Regions from separate parts of the Homo sapiens genome. Here region 1 is linked to region 2. The links are contacts of gene promoters, found by promoter capture Hi-C in human tissues and cell types (Jung and others, 2019). All regions are on one chromosome and are shown on one strand. The core of a region is centred on a gene start or on the middle of the fragment in contact, and the rest is flanking DNA. Distances in the headings are between cores, read along the strand shown.

The links. The method cuts DNA at HindIII sites, captures the fragments that hold promoters and counts their contacts. A contact is called where the count stands out against the background at its distance.
Region 1: a contact is called between a fragment that was not itself captured here and the fragment with the promoter of KDM2A in region 2, in 1 of the 25 tissues and cell types used here (pancreas).

The regions. Positions count from the first base shown.
Region 1 is chr11:65,732,160-65,739,337 of GRCh38, reverse strand. No RefSeq gene overlaps it. Among named protein-coding and RNA genes, the nearest start is that of RNASEH2C, 15 kb to the right of the region's middle. The HindIII fragment of the contact is 9,114 bases long and covers 1-7,178 here.
Region 2 is chr11:67,117,178-67,124,456 of GRCh38, reverse strand. KDM2A (lysine demethylase 2A) reads right to left here and starts at 5,194. Exons shown (of 21, transcript NM_012308.3): 1 at 4,408-5,194; 2 at 3,099-3,223. The coding sequence starts at 3,140. It overlaps LOC107984341 (a long non-coding RNA gene), which reads left to right and starts at 6,109. Exons shown (of 2, transcript NR_160735.1): 1 at 6,109-7,223. RefSeq lists silencers at 4,053-4,142, 4,668-4,807, 4,988-5,057, 5,198-5,637, 5,818-6,097 and 2 more and an enhancer at 5,708-5,757. The HindIII fragment of the contact is 11,710 bases long and covers 1-7,279 here.

The DNA of each region.
Region 1 (7,178 bases), core at 1,608-4,107, 1.4 Mb after region 2:
TATTGTGACGCTATTTTACAATTGGACTTATTCTATATAAAATAAGGAAAATGGGAGGAGGTCCTTTATGTACAGGCTTTTATGGTCCTTTATTGGCTCATATTACTCCCAGGAACCCGGAAGCCATGCCTAAGGGTTTCCCTCCTAGCTGTTCCCACTAGAAGGCCTACATCTTTCCTGGAGTCTCCTCAGTCCCCCAGTTCTGAGGAAGTCCACCCCAAGTTTATCAGGCACCCTTATCCAACTAGCCCCAGCCCATATTCCTCACTTCCCAAGGTAGTAAGCCCAACCAGTACCACCAGGAGTGGGGCCCCATATTAGCCTCCAAAATAAAACTTGTGTCCATTGTAGGAGGTAACCGATGGAAATGGGGTGATACTTAGAATACATGTTCCATTTTCTATGTCAGATTTGGCTTTATGCAAAAAATTTGGCCAGTTTTCAGAAAATCTAGAAAAGTTTATAGAAGAATTGGTTGACAATTTTTTAAATTTAACTTGCCGTGACTTGCAAGTATTGTTGTCTCCCTGCTGTGCCATGCCGGAAAAAAAAGTGGAGGAAAAAGTGTGTAGTTAAGCCAGCCAATTATGACAAAGTTAGAGAAATAACTCAGGGAAAAGATGAAAATCCCACTCTGTTTCAAAGTTGTTTGGTTGAGGCACTCAGGAAATACACTAACGCAGACCCAGACTTCCCAGAAGGCAAACTCTTCTGGTTATGCATTTTATTACTCAAGTTGCCCCTGACATTAGGAGGAAGCTACAAAAAGCAACAATGGAAGCTCAAACCCCTATGAGCCAATATTTAAACTTGGCCTTTAAAATTTACAACAATAGGGACAGGGAAAAAGAGTTGAAAAAAAAAAGACAAAAGAAACAGCTCTAGCCCAGGCAACATGATGAAACTCTGTCTCTACTAAAAATACAAAAAATTCGCTGTGCATGGTGGTGTATGCCTGTGGTCCTAGATACTGAGGAGGCTGAGGTGGGAGAATCACCTGAGCCCAGGAGGTTGAGGCTGCAGTAAGCTGAGATAATGCACTGCAACTCCAGCCTGGGCAACTGGAGTGAGACCCTGTCTCAAAAAAGAAAAGAAATAGCCAAAAAGTGCAATTGTTAGCTGTTACTTTAAGTCCCCTGCCACCTTAGAATTACCTATCCTGAGAAAGTGTCACAAGATCACCATCTGGGATGCCCAGATGAGAGCCCCCAACTCACTGGCTCCTGGTCCAGAATCAATGTGCCTACTATAAGCAAAAGGACCATTCACAATGAGAATGTCCTAACCATCCCCAGCAAACGAGGGAAAAAGCTCCCCGTCAATATTAGAACTAACCTTCTTCCATATGTCCCAATGAGCCACCTTGCTCAAGTAAATTTACTCAGATTCCTGGACCCTTGACCCAATGGACAGCTTTTTGCAGTGGAAGACAAGTGGCCACCAGAACATTTTTCTTTGGTGTCTCCACTGCTAGATGCTCTGGTAGCTCAAGGACTCTGAGACCTCCCCTTGAGCAACATGGTTTACCACCTCCCTTCCTTATTTGATGCTATGGGGTCCCTTCTCTGCCTCTTCCTGTCTTCCCTACGTATCTGGGCAAACAAAATGTATTGAGATAGACAGGTCCCAATTTTATAAGTAACTTGGATCCATCTGTCTTGTGTAGGTCACTTCATTTGTGTGATGGGTGTTGTGTTTAGCATACTATCAAATTGGCTTATAAATAAAAGAGAATTCATAAATTAAAAAATAAGACTAGTCTAAATTTATTAGTTTGAAGGGAATGTTATGTCTTCTAAAATTTAACTTTAAGATTTTTACCTAGATGAACCTCTGATGTTTGTAGCCTTTAGAATGGTTAGGATGGCTTTTAAACAGTGAGCTTATGTATAGTTGAAAATCTTAAAGCTGTGAAATAGTTCTCATCTATAGAGTGCCAATGTCTGATGAGCAGTTCAGAATTTCTTGCTCTTTAGATTTATATAAAATAAGCCAAAGAAAGTGTGTTTTTTATTGGGAAAAATAATAATTTTTGTCTAATTTGGAAGTTATTAAAAGAGAGGTTCAAAATATGAAGGAACCAGTAAGTAGAAAAGAGAGATATGAAGAAAGTTATGGATAGATGTACTTTTTGCAAGGAAGAATACAAAGAAGGATACAAGGAAGGATATAAAGAAGGATACAAGGAAGAATACAAAGTTATTTTATATGAGGAGGGATCTTGTGTAGTAAATTCTTATCCTAGAGTAAAATGATGAGTTCTTTAAGGAAGGGGTCCTATAGGACAAGTCAGAAAGTCCAAGCATGTTGTAGATGGTCCATGTGGGTCATGATGGGGTTTGTGAAGGGGAATTTTGTGTATGATTAAGCTTAAGCTGACTATGACTAAAGGAAAACTGTGGTAGACTTTCTAGAGAATGGTCTATATATTGGCAACAGGTTTTCTTAAGGTATTGATTTGCTAAATTACAGGAAGTTTTGCTTTTAATAATCTACCTGGTTTATTTTAAAATGTCTTGGATTCATGTCTCAGAGATTCAACTGTTGTTGTGTCTCACTACTTTCAATTCTTTCTCCCTTTAAGAAGGCCTGGGATGATGGCTCTTTCCATCAACCTTTTCATCAACATTGTGACTTTTTTTCCTCTGGTTCTGACTATTGGGCCCTGGTACTAAAATGTTTTGTCTTAGAGGTCTGCGAAAACAGTGTTTTCCCCGAATATAGCTTGATTCTATGCTGTTTTTTTTTTTTTTTTACATATAACCTTATTATTGGCATTTAGTTTTTGACTCTTATATTGCTTTAAAAGATTTTAAGGGCAAATGAGTGCCTGCTCACCTCCATTTCCTTCTGACCTAGGATGTTTAATTGGCTATAAGTCTTTTGACTCTAAGTCCCTTAGCCAAAGGGAATTCCAAAGAAGCCTTCAAAAAAAAAGAAGTCAGACCATGACAGGAAACAGGGGGCCAAACATGCCTCACTGTGCCACCCCTTAGAATTTAGGCTAGGCACAAAGGCCCTTCAAAAATTATAATAACAAAGTACTTCCCTTTCCCACATAGGAAAGAAATAGCTCCTCTGTTCAACCTGAACACCTAGTCTTACAAAAAACTTTTTGTTAAAAAGGATCCCCAGAGGATCAATTACAACCCAAATGGAAGAGCCCCTATCAGGTATTGTTAAGTACCTTCCCTGCTGTTAAACTTCAGGGAATCACTAGTTGGGTACACCTGTCCAAGATTAAATCTGTTTCTTATGAATCCCTGACGGCATAAGAGGAGGACACCATGATTTACACCTGTGAGCTCCTATAAGACTTAAAGCTGTTGTTTCACAAACACAAAGATAAAAAACATGATGCCATGGGCATAGATGCATTAATTTTCTCATCCTCCAAATTATAATTTTCCTGTTGACCTCCTACTTAAGTTTATGTCTTCTAGATTCCACATAAAGATGATGCTGGCACAAGGTTTCAACCCATCCCATCTTATGACCTGAAAAATGAAAATATCCTGTTGGACCCCTTAGATCAGGTATCCAGAGATTACCAGAGGCTAGGGGCATGGGAGAGTGGGAAATGGGAAGATATTGCTCAAAAGGTACAAAGTTTCAGTTAGACAGGTATATTAGAGTTCTCTAAAGGGACAGAACTAATAGGATAGATGTATATATGAAGGGGAGTTTATTGAGGAGTAATGATTCACATGATCACAAGGTGAAGTCCCACAATAGGCTGTCTGCAAGCTGAGGATCAGGGAAGCCAGTCCAAGACCCAAAACCTCAAAAGTAGGGAAGCCAACAGTGCAGCCTTCAGTCTGTGAACAAAGGCCCGAGAGCTGCAAACCACTGGTGTAAGTCCAAGAGTCCAAAAGCTGAAGAACTTGGAGTCTGATGTTCGAGGGCAGGAAACATCCAGCAAGGGAGAAAGATGAAAGCCGGAAGGCTCAGCAAGTCAAGTCCTTCCATGTTCTTCTGCCTGTTTTAATCTAGCTGTGCTGGCAGCTGATTAGATGGTGCCACGCCAGACTAAGGGTGGGTCTGCTTCTCCCAGTCCACTGACTCAAATGTTAATCTCCTTTGGCAACACCCTCACAGACACACCCAGGAACAATACTTTGCATTCTACAACATTTTTATATTACTGTATTGTATTAGAGATGGGGTCTTACTCTGCCACCCAGGCTGGAGTGTAGTGGCACAATCATGGCTCACTGTAGTCTTGAACTCCTGGGCTCAAGTGATCCTCCTGCATCAGCCTCTCCAGTAGCTGGAGCTACAGGTGTGCATCACCACACCTGACTAATTTTTTTTGGGGGGGTAGAGATGGGGTCTCACTATGTTGCCCAGGCTGGTCTGAAACTATTGGCCTCAAGAAATCCTCTCACAGCTGGGTGCAGTGGCTCACACCTATAATCCCAGCACTTTGGGAGGCCAAGGTGGGTGGATCATGAGGTCAAGAGATTGAGACCATCCTGGCCAACATGGTGAAACCCCGTCTCTATTAAAAATACAAAAATTAGCTGGGTGTGGTGGCACGTGCCTATAGTCCCAGCTACTCAGGAAACTGAGGCAGGAGACTCGCTTGAACCCAGGAGGTGGAGGTTGCAGTGAGCCAAGATCACGCCACTGCACTCCAGCCTGGCAACAGAGCAAGACTCCATCTCAAAAAAAAAAAAAAGAAAAAGAAATCCTCTCATGTTAGCCTCCCAAAGCACTGGGATTACAGGCATGAGCCACTGCAGCTGGCTATGAGGTGGACAGTTTTAGATCTTGCATATAAGTGAGATCATGTGGTATTTGTCTCTCTGTGCCTGGCTTATTTCACTGAACATAATGTTCTCCAGGTTAATCCCTGTTGTGGCAAATAATAGAATTTCCTTTTTTTTTTTTTTTTTTTTGACGCAGTTTCACTCTGCCTCCCAAGCTGGAGTGCAGTGGTATGGTCTTGGCTCACTGCAACGTCTACCTCCTGGTTCAAGTGATTCTCGTGCCTCAACCTCCTGAGTAGCTGGGATTACAGGTGCGCACCACCATGCCCAGCTAATTTTTGTATTTTTAGTACAGACAGAGTTTCACCAAGTTGGCCAGGCTGGTCTCAAACTCCTGACCTCAAGTGATCCGCCCACCTCGGCTTCCCAAAGTGCTGGGATTATAGGCATGAGCCACCGCGTCCAGCCAGAATTCCCTTTTTACGAAAAAAAAAAAAAGGCTGAATAGTATTCTGTTTTTTATATACACCACACTTTCCTTATTCTTTCATCCACCAGTGGACACATAGGTTGATTCCATATCTTGGCTATTGTGAATAATGCTGTGATGAATATGAGATTGTAGATGTCTCTTCAACATATTCATTTCAGTTCCTTTAAATATATACCCAACAATGGGATTGCTGGATCATATGGTAGTTCTATTTTGAGTTTTTTAGGAACCTTCATACTCTTTTATATAAGGGCTGCACTAATTTACATTTCTACCAACAGTGTACAAGAGTGCCCTTCTCTCCACATCCTCGCCAACACTTTTTCTTTCATCTTTTTATTTTCTTATTTTCTTATTTTTATTTATTTGTTTGTTTTTTTGAGAAGCAGTTTCACCCTGTCGCCCAGGCTGGAGTGCAGTAGTGAGATCTCCGCTCACTTCAACCTCCGCCTCCCGGGTTCAAGTGATTCTCCTGCATTAGCCTCCCAAGTAGCTGGGACTACAGGTGTGCATCACCATGCCAGGCTAATTTTTTTTTTTTTTAATTTTTAGTAGAGATGGGTTTTCACCATGTTGGTCAGGCTGGTCTAGAACTCCTGACCTCAGGTGATCTGCTTGCCTTGGCCTCCCAGAATGCTAGGATTATAGGCATGAGCCACCATGCCCAGCCTCATCTTTTTAATAATAGCCATTCTAACACATGTGAGGTGATATCTCATTGTGGTTTGCATTTCCCTAATGATTAGTCACGTTGAGCATTTTTTCATATACCTTTGGCCATTCATATGTATTTTGAGAAATGTCTGTTCAGGTCCTTTGCCCATTAATTCACTGGGTTATTTGTTTTCTTGCCATTGAGTTGTTTGAGTTATATATTTTGGATATTAACTGCTTATCAGATATATGGTTTGCAAATATTTTCTCCCATTCTGTTTTTGTCTCCACTCTGTTAATTGATTCCTTTGCTGCCCAGAGGCTTTTTAGTTTGATATCATCCCATTTGTCTATTTTTGCTTTTGTTGCCTGTGCTTTCAGGGTCATTTTCAAAAATTCATTGCTCAGACCAATGTCATAGATCTTTTCCTCTATGTTTTTTCTAGTAGTTTTACAGTTTGTTTTATATTTAAGTCTTTAATCCATTTTGAGTTGATTTTTGTATATAGTGTAAGATAAGAGTCTAGTTTCATCTTCTGCATTCTCAATACCATTTATTAAAGAGAGTATCCTTTTCAAATTGTATATTCTTGGCATCTTTGTCAAAAATCAATTTGCCATAAATGTATGGGTTTATTTTGGGGGCATTATATCCTGTTCCATGTGTTGATATATCTTTTTTTTAATGGCAGTACCATGCTATTTTGATTACAGTAACTTTATAATATATTTTGAAATCAGGGAGTATGATGCCTCCAGATTTGTTATTTTGCTCAGGATTGCTTTGACTGTTTGGGGTCTTTTGTGGTTCCATGTGGACTTGAGGATTGTTTTTTCTTTTTTATAAAAAAAGACTTTGGAATTTTGATAAGGATTGCATTGATTCTGTGGATTTGGGTAGTTTGGTTACTATGGACATTTTAACAATACTAATTATTCCAATCCATGAACATGGGATATCTTTGCATTTATATGTGTTTCCTTCCATTTCTTTTTTTTTTTTTTTTTGAGATGGAGTTTCACTCTGTTACCCAGGCTGGAGTGCAGCGGCACGATCTCAGCTCACTGCAACCTCCACCTCCTGAGTTCAAGTGATTCTTCTGCCTCAGCCTCCTGAGTAGCCAGGACCACACGCATGCGCCACCATGCCCGGCTACTTTTTGTATTTTTAGTAGAGACAGGGTTTCAGCATATTAGAAAGGCTGGTCTCGAACTTCTGACCTCGTGATCCGCCCACCTGGCCCTCGCAAAGTGTTGGGATTACAGGCATGAGCCACCGTGCCCAGCCTCCTTCCATTTCTTTCATCAGTGTTTTATAG
Region 2 (7,279 bases), core at 3,945-6,444:
GCCTGTAATCGCAGCTACTTGGGAGGCTGAGGCAGGAGAATCATTTGAACCTGGGAGGCAGAGGTTGCAGTGAGCCAAGATCGTGCCACTGCACTCCAGTCTGGGTAACAGAGTGAGTCTCCATTTCAAAAAATATATATAAAAATAAAGTGAAGCCGGGCACGGTGGCTCACACCTGTAATCCCAGCACTTTGAGAGGCTGATGTGGGTGGATCATCTGAGGTCAGGAGTTCAAGACCAGCCTGGCCAACATGGTGAAACTCCATCTTTACTAAAAATATAAAAATTAGCTGGGTGTGGTGGTGGGCACCTGTAGTCCCAGCTACTCAGGAAGCTGAGGCAGGAGAATCACCTGAACCCGGGAGCCAGAGGTTGCAGTGAGCCCTGATAGTGCCATTGCACTCCAGCCTGGGCAACAGAGCGAGACTCAGTCTCAAAACAAACAAACCAACAAACAAACAACAACAACAAAACCCAAAAGTCCAGGTCCAGTGGCTCATGCCTGTAATCTCAGCACTTTGGGAGGCCAAGACAGGCGGATCATCTGAGGTCAGGAGTTCGAGACCAGCCTGGCCAACAAGGTGAAACTCAGTCTTTACTAAAAATACAAAAATCAGCCAGGTGTGGTGGTAGGCACCTGTAATCTCAGCTACTCGGGAAGCTGAGACAAGAGAATCACTTGAACCCAGGAGGAAGAGGTTGCAGTAAGCAGAGATAGTGCCATTGGACACCAGCCTGGGTGACAAGAGTGAAACTCCGTCTCAAAAAAAAAAAACAGTTAAAAGTTTTGCTTGCTGGAAAGGCTCTTCCTTTAAAGTCTGGACTGCAAAATTCCTTAGATACCTAACTAACAACTTGACATGATAAAAGTGAATTCCATATAGCAATAACTACCTGGGAAAGGAGTTTTATGGCATCATCTCTTTTTCTGTTCCCAAAGAAAAGTTAAATTCAAGAAATGTAAAAATAAAAATAAATCCCAACGATACAATATTCTACTACAGATATGCTTAATTTCTACAAAGTTAGAGATAAAGAATTATAATCTCAACACATGAACTGGGAACAAGACAAATCTCTGAAATTAGGCTCACCGGAATATATGCATGCTGAATATATACTTCCCAATACACACCAAACCTTTCTAGCAGTCACAAAAAAAAAAAAAAAAAAAAAAAAAAGCCAGGTACTGTGGCTCACGCTTGTTAATCCCAGCACTTTGGGATGCCAAGGTGGGAGGATCGCTTGAGGCCAGGAGTTCAAGACTAGGGTGGGCAACATAGCAAGACCCCGTCACTAAGAAAAAAAAAAGTCTGAAAATTACCCTGGCATGGTGGCACACGCCTGTAGTCCCAGCTACTCAGGAGGCTGGAATGGAAGATTGCTTGAGCCCAGGAATTTGAGGCTACAGTGAGTTATGATCACATCACTGAACGTCACCCTGGGCAGAGCAAGATCCTGTCTATAAAAATAAAAATAAAAGGCCAGATGCAGTGGCTCACACCTGTAATCCCAGCACTTTGGGTGGCCGAGGCGGGCAGATCACAAGGTCAGGAGATCGAGACCATCCTGGCTAACACAGTGAAACCCCGTCTCTACTAAAAGTACAAAAAATTAGCTGGGCGTAGTGGTGGGCGCCGATAGTCCCAGCTACTCGGGAGGCTGAGGCAGGAGAATGGTGTGAACCCAGGAGGCGGAGCGTGCAGTGAGCAGAGATTGCGCCACTGCACTCCAGCCTGGGCAACAGAGCCAGACTCTGTCTCAAAAAATAAATAAATAAATAAATAAATAAATAAATAAATAAATAAATAAAAATAAATAAAAAATAGGCCATGGCCAGGCGCGGTGGCTCACGTCTGTAATCCCAGCACTTTGGGAGGCCAAGGTGGGTGGATCATGAGGTCAGATCGAGATCATCCTGGCCAACATGGTAAAACCCTGTTCTCTACTAAAAATACAAAAATTAGCTGGACGTGGTGGCACATGCCTACAGTCCCAGCTACTTGCAAGGCTGAGGCAGGAGGATCACTTGAACCCAGGAGGTGGAGGCTGCGGTGAGCTCAGATCACGCCACTGCACTCCAAGCGTGGGCGACAGAGTGAGACTCAATCTCAATAAAAATAAATAAATAATAAAGAAGTCTCTTCTCAAAAAGAGTAAGGATCACTAGAAAATGTATTCGAGAACCATTCTTTTTCTCCTAAATTCAGTCTAAAATGCAGAGCCAAATAAAACCACCATAAATTCCTTTAGTAATCTTCTAGGCCTTTCAGGTCAGCAAATTTCACATACTACATACAATTCTGTCGCTTTCCTCATAGCCCACTCTTCAAACACAAATTCAGATTTTTATTAATACTGTGAGACTACTAATAAAGCTCTCTTTGGCTAAGAAAAACAAAAATTGAATTCTTAAAACTCCAATAGGGAAACCTTACGAGGAAAGCATGGCTTAAAGGATCCAAGTGTTCATATACAGATATAAGCCAATCCTTTCAAATCATGTCTAAAATTTCTTTCAACAAGATCTATCTCGTACATTCCTCCCAAAACACAGAACTTTATCAGCATCCAGTATTCTACCTACTTGTCTTCAATCAATCCCAACAACCCTTCAAAGCTACCAAAATGTTAATTTATAAAATAAAAGAAAATAATCCATAGTTCTCCCCGCTCAAAGTCACAAATCCTGGGACAACAAAATCTTAAAAAACGTATTGAACTATCCTTCCTCAAACAGCTTTGCCCCCAAAATTTATATTCTAATCTAACGTAATCAGATGTATTACAATGTCAGTACTGTAAAATCAGGAATCTTTGTCACATTGTAATCCACAAAATCCTTTGGTATACAATGGTTTCTATAAAAGCTAAAGGCTACATATAACTCCATTTCCAAACAAGATAAATATATAAAATATAAAACATGTTTGGCCAAAAGCCAAATTCGATATTAATACACCTTTCCCCCTCCTCTGGTGCACAGAAAAGTCACCCGAAAAGTTTTAATCACAGATTCACAGTATATTCACAACTGGAAACAAAATAGTTATCCTACTTTAAAACTGGAGGGTGTGGTGGGGGGAGAAAATACTAACCAATCTCTGGCTGTAACGAATCCTTTCTTCTTCGGGTTCCATCTCTCACTCTTCTGTTGAAATTACTGTAAAGAAACCACTCCAGGGCTGCCTTCCTCTTCCTCCTTAGGAACCAGATTGCAACACTAAAGAATAATGATATAAGCAGAAATGAGAACTCATTCTCAAACTTGTGCTTTCTGTTCACGGAAAGGAGTATTTAAGGTAAGTGTTAAAGGCTCTCTGAAAAATCAGGTTCCTCTTCATGAGTTTGGGACCTTTCTGCTCTTGGGCAAGTGGTTCCATGTCATGTTCAACATTAATCACATTACAACTGTCGGAGGCCTAGACGAAACGAGATGTTGGTTTCAGTTCCTTGTGGAAGGGCCACACCACCAGTTTCTCCCCACAGGATTACAACTAGCAAGGATCTCCTTCATGGCAGCATCAGCAAGAAAAAAAAAAAGCCCAGGACTTTTATCTCCAGAGAGCTGACCAGGTGAAGCACCACTGAACTAATCCAGATCCTAACCAAATTAGTTCTCTCTCACCGGTAATCAGAAACTAAAGGAAAGAAGGGCAAACTGACTATGTAAAAAGAGGACAAAAAATTAGGATTTAAATGACCCCAAAACAATTTCCCATACCCCTCCTGTAAGGCCGTGCACAATCGTCGCCTTCCTTTCTAGACTCCCCGGATCTTATCATTCCCAAATCTACCCTCCACCCCAACACAAGATGTGCACAACTCTGAAACAAATTTCAGAGGTGCAAATCAAGGACCAAAATTCCATCTGATCTTTTTGGATAAAGTAATAAAATAAACGATTGCATCTAAGGATACAAGGAAAATACATCTTGTCCAAAAATTAAATAAAAGACCGGCCGGCGCGACGGTCAATCCGTAATACCAAGAAAGGGTTTTCTTTTTTCTAAATATTCTCGTGGATAATGGCTTCCATTGAGAACACAGGTTCCCCCCGTTTTTGTCACTACATTACAGCCACGTTAACAGCATCCTTTCAAAACTGCTACGAGACCAGAGGACCCGATGACACAGTTTGCAGAGCAGTTAGAGGCAGAGCCCTCCCGGAGGAAGCCCTGGCCCGAAGTCGGGAGGGAAACCGTGCTTGCACCCCCTGGGCGACGACCGCCTGGGCATGGAGCAGCCAGGGCCGGAGAGGAAAAAGGGCGAATCTCGCTGGGCTCCCCCAGGAAAAGGCGTTTCAATGGTTCACCCATCGGAAAAAGAGATAGAAACTTTGCATTCAGTCTTTGGATAACACAGTCAACCAAACTTCCAAATGAGGGGGGGGAGGGGGAAACTCACCGGAGATTCTGCTCTTGAGTTCTTGTCCAAGTGAGAAGTAAAAGATTCCAAAGCTGAGAGGAATAATTAAATCCCAAACGTCGTCTTCGGTTTTTCCGTGGATCAACCCAGTATCCAGAGAGGGTCAGAGCGACCAGGAAAAGGGAGCAAACAGTTGCTGAATCAAACCTTCTCTTCTGGCTTTGGAGACCGGGAGTCGGAGGCGTCAGGAGAGAGGAGCGCGACCCCTCGGCGCCGAGCCCGGGGCGCCCCCGCCTCCCCCAGGCCAGCGGTCAGCAGCCCGGGCCCGAGCCCCGGGCCGGCCCCGGCCGCAGGGAGCGCCCTCCTCGCCGTGCCCTCGGCCAGCAGGGGCTGGTCGCCTGCGGGAGCAGCGGCCGATCAGCTGAGACCGGCCGGCCCGAGGCTCCCCGCGCCGCCCCGGCCCCCCGGAACGCGGGCCCCGGCCCCGGGGGGCGGACAGGGCGGGAGCGGCGCGGCGCGCCGGGATGGGGGCCCTGGCTCCCCTCGCGTCTCCCCCTCAGGTCTGGCTCCGCGCTGCGGGACGAGCCCCCCGGCTACTCCCCAGTCGCAGAAGAGGGATTCCGGGGGATGGGCCCCCTGGCGTTGCCCCTCCTCCCGGAGCGTCCCCTGCCCAGGAAAGACAGAGCGGCCACGGGCCCAGCCGCTGGGAAGGTGCTCCGAGAGCCGCCGCCGCCGCCGCCGCTGCCGGGGAGGGGTGTTGTTTCCCTCACACAGGAGGAGCCGCTGAAGCAGCCGCCGCCATTTTGAACCCGTCAGACTCTCACATACACACAGCTCCTCCGAGGCGCACTGCGCAGGCGCCACCTCCCCACCCCTCCTCCAGCTCGCCTCTCCACCCCCCCACCCCCTTCAGGCCTCCCTGCGCTTCTTACCGCTCTCCCGGGCGCGCGTGAACGCGCACGCGTCACTCCCCTCTAACGCGGACACACCGCCGGCGCGCGCACGCGCGGATGCGTCGGCCTCGAATCGCCCGCGCCCCGCGACGCCGACGCGGCTCCCTGCGCCCCCTCGCGTCAGGCCGCCCGCCCTCCCTCCCTCCCGCCAGCCCGCCGCCCCCGCTCCCCGTCGGCGTTCTTCCAGGGCTCGGGCCTGGCTGGCTGCTCGCGCCTGCGCGCAGGGCACCGATCCTCCTCCGCGCGCCCTCCCCCCACACACCCTCACACACACTTCGCCTCTGCGACCCCGCCCCTCGCGGCCAGCTGTGCTGGCCGCCCTCCCCCACCCCCCTGGGAGGGTGGTGACCCCCGACCCCCCACAAAGCACATCACCCCCCCCAAGCAGTGGGAGATCTGCGTCCCCTTCCCCTTCAACCGCCTTTGGCCCCAGGCTGCCCGTCACAGTCACACAACCTGAGGGCCGGGAGGCCTGGGCCAGGGCAACCGATACCCGCCTCAAAGCAGGGTCTCCCGGGGTCAAGCCGCCGGGCTGGGCCCGCGGGACCTGGGCTCCCGGCTCAGGCCTGCCCAGGGCGAGAGGGCGCAGGGAAGGGGCGCATGGCCGCCGGCTGCCCTCCCTTCGCGTGCCGGCCGGTGGGCCGAGGCCGGCTTGCCCGCCATTCCCGGGCAGGCCCCGGCGCCGCCGCCACGGGGCCCGTCTGCCCTGGGCCCGGGGGCTCCTCGGTGCAGCGGCCTGGCCCCGCCTCACCCACTGCTCGTCGCTCCGAAGGGGCAGGAAACAGGAGTAGCATGTCTGTCCTGGGCTCGGCTCCCCGGGGGTGCTGCAGGCGCTTAACAAGGGCGTCCACAGGTACCAGGCGCAGAAGCGGTCTCCGCGACGGCCCGGGGGCGGTGGCGGCCGGCGCGCCCACCGCCGGCCGGAGGCGCCCGGCGAGGTGGCCCAGGAAGCCCCCGCTCCTCGGCCACGCTCAGCTTTCCGCCGCGCCGGTGCCCCCGGCGGCCCGGGTGGGACGTGACCCCGCCCCCGGCGAGTCGGGGCGCCCCCCACGGAGGGGTGCGCGGGCCGCCCCCGGCCCCCGGCCCGACCCTGCCGCCCTGGGCCGTGGCGGGCGCGGGAGGCCCGGCCGGGAAGATGTCTCCTGTTGGTGCGCGCAGCTTCGCGCGGGGGTCAGCGACGGGGCAGCAGCCGCCCGAGCTGCGCCGGCCCTGCCCACGGACCGACTCCCGCGGCCCGACAGCTGCCCGACGGGCCAGCAGGCTCCGAACGTCGACGGAGCCCGGCCGGAGGTACCCGAGCAGTGCCATGCGAGCAGCCCAGCCGCGATCCGGGCATTTCCCCAGCCAATCTCTTGCTCTGGGGCCCGTTTAAATTCTAAATCCCACAAAGGACGGTGGCTGGGGCGTTACACATCGGGGTTGGCACTATTGGCTCCACTACGCCCTTGCTGAGCGGTGTCACACAAATCTTTTTCTCCCTGCCTTGGTTTCCCACTCTTTAAGCTCTGACTCCTGGAAGCAGGGAATGGAGCAGAGAGGTAGGGCATGGAGTGAATCATATAACCTGCATAAACAGCCATCAACTCTTTCAGGAGGACGTTAGCGAGACAATTAAAATAATGATACCTTCTAATTCTATCAAGGCTTGAACTCCAAGGTAAAAGCGCTACGTAAATGCAAGGTATTATTATTTATTACCACAGAAGGTTTTTCTGCATGCACAACTTGGGGAGTTTGTACAGACATTCTCTGCTTTGTTTCACAACATCCTTAGGAGACAAGCTAAAGTGCCTGTTAGCGCTATATTCATTTTAAAGATAGACAACTGAAGTATAGAAAGGTTAAAGAGCTTGCATAATTACTCCAACAGCCGACTGAAACATCTCACAAACAGCAAAAAAGGTTTGTTAATAAGATATCATCTTCTTGCGTTCTAGTCACTGGGAAATATTCTTTAT